2 separate regions of the Homo sapiens genome follow, and region 1 is linked to region 2. Evidence: promoter capture Hi-C in human tissues and cell types (Jung and others, 2019). All regions are on one chromosome and are shown on one strand. The core of a region is centred on a gene start or on the middle of the fragment in contact, and the rest is flanking DNA. Distances in the headings are between cores, read along the strand shown. Region 1 has its middle 200 kb from the start of EPCART. Region 2 holds the start of NEUROD1 (neuronal differentiation 1).

The links. The method cuts DNA at HindIII sites, captures the fragments that hold promoters and counts their contacts. A contact is called where the count stands out against the background at its distance.
Region 1: a fragment that was not itself captured here is called in contact with the fragment with the promoter of NEUROD1 in region 2 in 1 of the 25 tissues and cell types used here (dorsolateral prefrontal cortex).

What each region holds. Positions count from the first base shown.
Region 1 is chr2:180,321,471-180,325,511 of GRCh38, forward strand. No RefSeq gene overlaps it. Among named protein-coding and RNA genes, the nearest start is that of EPCART, 200 kb to the left of the region's middle. The HindIII fragment of the contact is 4,485 bases long and covers 1-3,526 here.
Region 2 is chr2:181,677,999-181,681,817 of GRCh38, forward strand. It overlaps NEUROD1 (neuronal differentiation 1), which reads right to left and starts at 2,519. Exons shown (of 2, transcript NM_002500.5): 1 at 2,432-2,519; 2 at 1-873. The coding sequence starts at 862. RefSeq lists an enhancer at 3,169-3,745. The HindIII fragment of the contact is 10,799 bases long and covers 1-3,819 here.

The sequences.
Region 1 (4,041 bases), core at 34-2,533, 1.4 Mb before region 2:
GTAATTTTTAAAAATATGGTTGTGATTATATGATTTTTAAAAGCACTTTTGTGTTAATTTCCATATTTTGGATCAGGAATTTCTGTCCAGTAGTGAGAGTCAAATTTAGGAAAAAATGTAAATAAGACTAAGGGTTAAGTATCTAGTAGACAGTCACTGCAAGTTCATAGGTAACAGGTTAAGATAAATCTATTACATATCACAAGGGATAGATTTTAAAGTAATAATTTAAAAGCATTAACCACAAAAGAGGATTTCTTTGACTAGGGAGGAATTAAAAGAAGGCAAAGACTGCAAATGAGTACCACTGTTATTGCAAAAGTACACAGAGATAAACTCATCCCTTGAGAAGTGTTCCCCAACTGTATAAAGGGATTGAATGAAACAAAGGAGTCTTAATAATAATGAGCAATAATAGGCTCTTACAGCTGACCTTTCCCATAAAATCCCCTAAGGGCTTAGTGCATGTTGAATATTATACCAATTTGAAATAGTAAAGAGGATTGTTAGGCATAGAAACCATTTCAGTTATTGACAGGACCCATAAACTATGACAGAGAGAATTTTTAAAGGTTCTCTAGGGATTACAAAGCAAATGCCTTCAGGTATTGTGTAGGTAATGTAAATGAGGGAAGCTGTCCTGCTGTAAGACAAATAGAAATAGTGAGGTTTGAGGGACCTATGTCAAGATTTTCAAATCTAAATTGCTTTAAAAATTGCTTCAGCCAAAGTAAATATATCTGTAGGCTCTAGGGTTCCCTCTCCCTGCCATGTCTACAACAACAGCATTTTATCACTATGTTAACTAAAATGTTCAGTTTCATAGCTTGCATCTATGTGTCTTACTATATCACACAGCCAACTCTTATATGATATGTTTACTTGCCTGCTAGAAATTGAGTCTAAATCTTAAGATCTCCTTGGACATTTTTTTTGCAACTAAGAGTACTATGATGCCCAAAAATCTCTCCTAAACTTAATAAATTATGAAGACCTTACTGAGGTAGTACTTGTCAAATTGGAACATGGTTCATGAGCTAAAGAAGCTTATACACTCACACCAAGTTCTCTTCTGCAAGCCTAACTTAGAGAGTTAAGAGGAAAGATGAGTGAAGTGAAGATAAATCTTTTCTTTCTTCTTGTTCTTTGGAAAACATTTGCCCGAATGGATATGTTTTATTTAACAAGTGTTGTTTAACATGTTGTAGAAAGATAGAGAATATGACTTACTGATTTGGAAGATAGCAGGGTGCATTTTTATCTATAGAAAGAAAAGCAGCCATACACACACTCACAAACAGAAAACCAATATTAAGTAAAAATAAGGAGTAGAGAGGAAAATGTTTAGAAGTAGACAAACTGGGTTAATTCTATGGCCAGTAGAAATACAACAATTTGTGCTTTCCTCTGGGACACTAAACATAATTCTTGGATTTGGGTAGAGGTATGAGATTAAAATCTGTGTTTATTTGAATCACAATTCTGATGCTCAGGAGAGAGAGGAAATACATGACTCATTTGTTATGACCAGTATCTGAGAAGACAAAACTCACAGGCTATTTTTTATTATCTACAGAGTAGATATAAGATTGTTTTCTGAGACTTCAGCTGCATGGATTTTTGTACTTTGGAAGTAAATAAGAGAGAGTTGTAGAAAACCTCAGAGTTTCTGATGTTTTTCATAATGAGATCCATAAATATTAAGAATTATATGACTAATTAATTACTTTGACTTAGTCCTTGGGTCTGAATTTATTTTTATAGCCATAAAAAGTAATTATATTATTTGATATGGCTTGGTTTTAAAGTTTACTTCTTTGTACTTCTTTTGAAGCTCCTGTCCAAATTCTTTTAGGACTCTGTGTATTGGCTTGGTTTTAACATAAAATTAGTTGAATGTACTTAAATATAAAATAAATGAAATCCCACATGCTAATGGCCCTTATAAAAACATAAAATCCAAGTAAACTTAGTCAGTTCTAAAGAACTATGCGCATAATATAATTTACACAAAAATATAAGATAAATGATGTTGCTTTGCTAACATGAAACTTTTGGTTGAAAGGTGAATAGAGTGCTGATTTTATCATAGTCCCACAGCTTATAATAATATATGCCTGTGTTGACTCAATTTGTCACAACTTTTCCCACTTCAAGCTAACATTATTCCAGAGCAATTCATAGGACCCTCAGGAACTGTCCATAATCTACAGTTTATAAAAGGCTGGCCCACAGGTATGGTACTTGCTCAATGCTTTACACTAACTGGGACATATTACACTAATTGGGACCCCATGTAAATAAACAAAGAGAGAAAAAATAAGGCAAACAATATATAAAGCACGCATTTTTTTAAAAAAACAAAGCAAAACACCTCTTACAGCATAGAAACACTTAAAGAAACTTCCATTTGTTTTGTTGTTATTGTAGAATTTTCTCATGGGAAACAAACTATTGAAAGGATTTCCAGTAGTCCCCTCCTCACTAATTATCATTTTCTCTTGTAATTATCTTGATAAGTTTTAGAGAATAAATTTCATGGGAAGCTGCCCAGAAGTCCTTTTTCAGTCACTCATTCCGTGCTCTAGTGGGAAGTTGCTGGCAGCCATTTTGGTGACAGATAAATCCATAGATAGACAGCAAGCTTGAGGCAGGTGGGTGAATTCCAAGCCTATGCTAAGTGCTCAACCTGAGGAAGATTATCCAGAGAAGTCACTTTAAATTTTGGGAGGTGGCAAGCACAACACCTGGAGATATTGCCTTAATTTACCTCCTTTATTACTCTAGCCTAGATTGATGTGACAGCCTGTTAAAGATTAAAGACAGTGTTTATCCCTAATTTGTAATGCTAATGCTTCCCAAGAACTGTGGTGAAGGATTACACAATTAGCAATTTTACACTTTCATCATTGCAGTGGAATTTTCAGAAGGCACCCCACCCAATGTTGAACTCTGGTTGTGTTCATGTGTTGAACAATTATATGTTCTGACCATTAAATTAGTCAGTTGTGCCTGATGCTCATTTTCACTTCTGTAGCTTTTGACTAAATATTTCACTCAAGATGAAGTCTAGAAACCCCTAGGCTAAATTTTATTACATTCTTTCTTAAATAATGTTAAAACAGCTTTCATAATATAGGATACACTAGATTTCTTTCTCATGTTGCTGAAGGTATTTTTGACAAATTTATTGGTATTTGACTCGCAAATAAAGAGAAGGATGATTGCTGGCCCTTAAAATCTGTACATGTTTTGCCATCTGTTTAGAAGCCAAAATTATGCAATCCATACTTTTAGGATGAATTTAAACATAGATATTTCCCTTCTATAGTATCTAACATAATCAAACTTTTTTTTACATGTTTTGGCTTATTATTTTTATCATTACCATTACCTTACCTTCTACTTATTAAGATGCACTTGTTACAGTACACTAGGAAGTAAAAAGACATATTTTTTTCAACTACAAAGCTATCAAAAGTGAGAAAATGTTCTGTGTATTGTAGAATTTGGCACAGCAGTATTCACAGATATTCTTCTTACATGTGACTTTTGAATGGCTTCTTAAGAACATTTTCCTCTAACTAATTCTCTTTTAAGAAAAGAACTGGCTATCACTAAACAACTCCTATGGAGTAGTCTTTATTTTAAAATGTGTTGCCCCAGAATGGAAAAAAAAATCTGTAAATCTTAAATTCAAATGATTTCTTGAATGGTGACTTTTTTTTTTGTTTAACCATTGTATGGACTAACAGACTATAGATACCAAACTAAATTGAATATAGTTACTGGAATGTTTGTAAATATTGCTGTGCTATTGCTGCCTTAATCAACTATGGTTAGCCTAACTTTTCTAAATTACCTTTTGTTAATAATAATAATAAAAAAGCCTAATCACTAGATCTGATACGTTAAAAGTGACAAGTACTTGTTAAATTGGATTTGAAGATATCACTGGGTATAGTATAAATAAACCCACTGCTCATGAAAATTTAATAAAAAACCCTTAAGATGTGAAAGAGGGACAATGATATAATAAGT
Region 2 (3,819 bases), core at 1,269-3,768:
CGTGTTTGAAAGAGAAGTTGCCATTGATGCTGAGCGGCGGGCTGAGGGGTCCATCAAAGGAAGGGCTGGTGCAATCAGTCAGAGGGCTTTCAAAGAAGGGCTCCAGCGCTGCGCTGTAGGCGTGCGGCGGAGGCTTAACGTGGAAGACATGGGAGCTGTCCATGGTACCGTAAGGCGGACTGGGCAGCCCAGGCGACTGGTAGGAGTAGGGGTGTACAGGGAAGGAAGCGCTGGCCGTCGGCAGGTGGGGGGGCATGTCCTGGTTCTGCTCAGGCAGAAAAGTCCGAGGATTGAGTTGCAGGCAGCCCGCAACCAGGTTGGTGGTGGGTTGGGATAAGCCCTTGCAAAGCGTCTGAACGAAGGAGACCAGGTCTGGGCTTTTGCCTGAGCGCAGGATCTCCGACAGAGCCCAGATGTAGTTCTTGGCCAAGCGCAGAGTCTCGATTTTGGACAGCTTCTGCGTCTTAGAATAGCAAGGCACCACCTTGCGCAGGTTGTCTAGCGCCGCGTTCAGTCCGTGCATGCGGTTCCGCTCCCGGGCGTTAGCCTTCATGCGTCTCAATTTAAAACGCTCCAGGCGAGCCTTAGTCATCTTCTTCTTTTTGGGGCCGCGTCTCTTGGGCTTTTGATCGTCATCCTCCTCTTCCTCTTCTTCCTCCTCTTCCAGGTCCTCATCTTCGTCCTCCTCCTCTCCCCCGTTCCTCAGTGAGTCCTCCTCTGCGTTCATGGTTTCGAGGTCGTCCTCCTTCTTGTCTGCCTCGTGCTCCTCGTCCTGAGAACTGAGACACTCGTCTGTCCAGCTTGGAGGACCTTGGGGCTGAGGCTCGCCCATCAGCCCACTCTCGCTGTACGATTTGGTCATGTTTCGATTTCCTACATTCAACAAGGGAGAGGCAAACAGAAAGAAAAGCAGAAAAACGCTATATTCAAAAGCCAGATACGCCTTCAGCTTCCACTCCCTAAACCTGTACAAATGCTTGCGAAAAGTACCTGCCCATTACAAAATGAATGCCTCTGAGAAAAAGTTAAATGCAGTGTTTTATAATGGCGCGTGCGTGTGCCCCGCTAGTACGTAGGAGTGAGGACAGGACTGGGGGAGGGTAGTGAATATGTATATGTGTACACCACTCACGCATATGTGTTTGTATCCTAGTGATTAACTTAAATGTGTTTATGGTGGTTGCCCGACAGGATAATGTGTGTGGAAATGACTGTACATTTCAGCGACTTCATGTTTATCCAAATGTGTTCAAAGTTACTCACAACTCCATAAAAAAAAAAAAAAGCTGTAAAATCACACATTCTACTTCCATTTCTGTCCTGGCTTCCAGATACTTAGCGATTTAAGTTGAACAGCCATTGCGTAATTTACTAATACTGGCAGCGATTTTTAAGAAGATTACATCGACGGGATACTGAAAAGCAAATGCAGAAAGGAGGAAAAATAGTTTCCACCAAATTGTTTCACCATCAATGTAACATTTGGCAACAAAAGTGGACAGGGTCTTCCACCCCTCCCTCGCCTTTCTTTTCTTGCCTTCCATCTCTGGCCCACCGCTAAATTTCCACCTTGTACAAAAGCGCTAGCTGCAGGGCGAGGGCTGGGGGCGCGGCGCAGAGCGCTCTCCCACGCGCCGGGGATCAGGTGCGGAAGGCTCCTCTCTAATAAACAGCCCATTGAAAGGGCCGCCCGCTCTTTATTGGGGCTTTTCAAAGTTCGCCTCAAACCTCCCTTTAAAAGATTGAGTAATTATAATGGTCAGCGATTGGCAACCGCGAAGTTGCCGCTTCTAGTAAGGAAAATAAAAAGCCTTTAGTAAAACAACTGAATTTCTGGCTCCAGTAGTGGCTGCTGGGGACTTGGCCGCCTCTGGAGCGGTAACAGGTAGCAGGAGTGAGTCCCTCTCCCTTTCTCCACTTTCCCCCCTCTCAACTAAACTATCTCTGAACCTGATTTATTTTCCATGGTGTGAATACTCAAGGTATCCATGTCCCTTTCATTCACTGAAAACACAGCTTGACACTCCCAATGTGCGTAAAATACATGCACACAAAATATATATTGATAACATAGATTTTTTTTTCTTACTGTAAGAAGTGAGAAAGTGAAGTCATTATTGCTTTTGGGACTTTAAAATCAGCACTAGCAGATAATCATAGTTACCGTGCATTCTTTTAAAAAATCCAAGAAGCTCCTATGCTATCCACAAAAGAAACCCAAATTTTTAAAATTTAAATTAGAAAGCCTGCAGGGGGTACTTGAGTGACACGACTCATTATGTGTGAGTACTTATGGGCAATTATGGAGGGGGATGCTGGTCTCAATACACATACACACTCTCGCAAACGCACACATACAGAATATGTAGGTTCATCAGTCTTCAGTTATTGCTTCTATTCTGGGGCAAAAAAATGAAAGAACTGTAATTACCTTTGTTGTTAGTAGGTCCTGAGCAGTGATAGTCTCATAACCCTGGGGCCTCCGGACGCCGCGCCTCCTGCGTGGGCGAATTCCTCGTGTCGTGGCCGCGCGGGCGCTCAGGTTATATAGCCCAGTTAGTGATGCTAAGCGCGGGCGGGGCCGCTAGCTGAGGGGCTAGCAGGTCTATGCGCCTGACGCCTGCGCACGCGTCCAGGCTGTGCGCTCCCCGTTCTCCCCTCCTCCCCACTTCTCCCCACGCCTTGCTCGTCTCCCGCCCTCCTCCGACAACCGCTCCCCTCACCCTCCACCCCTACCCCCGCCCCTCCTCCTTCCTCCCCGGCATGCGCCATATGGTCTTCCCGGTCCAGCCAAGAGCCTGGAACCACGTGACCTGCCCATTTGTATGCCGCGGAGCGCTCCATTCCGGCCCCTTTGTGGCCAGAAGAAAGTGGCCCATCTGTCGCCAGTTAGAGACTCCGCGGACCTGTTTTTACCCGCAGGAGAGATTAACCCTTTCAGGCGGCAGAAGGGACGGGGATAGAGGGGGGAGGGGATTTGAGGGAAGGAAGGGAAAAGCTAATGTTAACTAGGTCTAGATCAGAGCGAGTGGCCTGCTTTCGCGCCGGAAGTAGGACAGAGGTGAAAGAGGCAGAAGCGGGGAGACTGAGGCACGCAGTGAAGAGTCCTCGCTCCTTTCGATTTCTTGTCCTGACACTGGCATCCAGAGCAGCATGACTCCTTGCCCTCTCTGAAAGGCCCATCCCTTGGCTTCTTCTCCTTGGCAGACGCTTTGATCATTGGCGCCAAAGGATGGCTTCTCCTAATCTCCGTCGGCCCCTCTAAGCAAACATATACGCCATATAAAAGCGGCTTCATCTGTAAACGCAGCGTTGAGATTAGTTCCCCAACCTCCCTAACCGGATCGTCCTCTCCCAGTTCCTTCAGTACAGAAAAGTTGTACCTGCCATTCTATCCCTACCATACGTGCAATTCTTCATGTCCTGACCTTCAGCTACGACTGTTCCTCCAGACCCTCTCACTACGTCAGTCCCCACCTCCATCCCCAGGATCTTGTCCTCAAAGCGAGCTAGTTCTCGCGAGGAGGCCTTGGTTCCATTGGCCTTTGCGCTCTCTTATGTGGGAGCTGGGGACTTCTTTGACGGTTGTATTCTGCCTTTTAACCATGGCCACTGGGTTGCTGGAAAGGGCACCCTCACTCAGCCAGTCCAGGGACGCTTCTGGTTCCCTGGCCAGCCCGCCCTGGACGGCCTCGGCTCTCTAGTCCAGGCATTGACCACAAGTACGGTGGTGGACACCTCGCCACAGCCGGACCTGCGCTCTTGCTCCCCTCAGTCTCGGGTCTGTATAAGATACTTGATTCAGACAAGCGTTTTCAA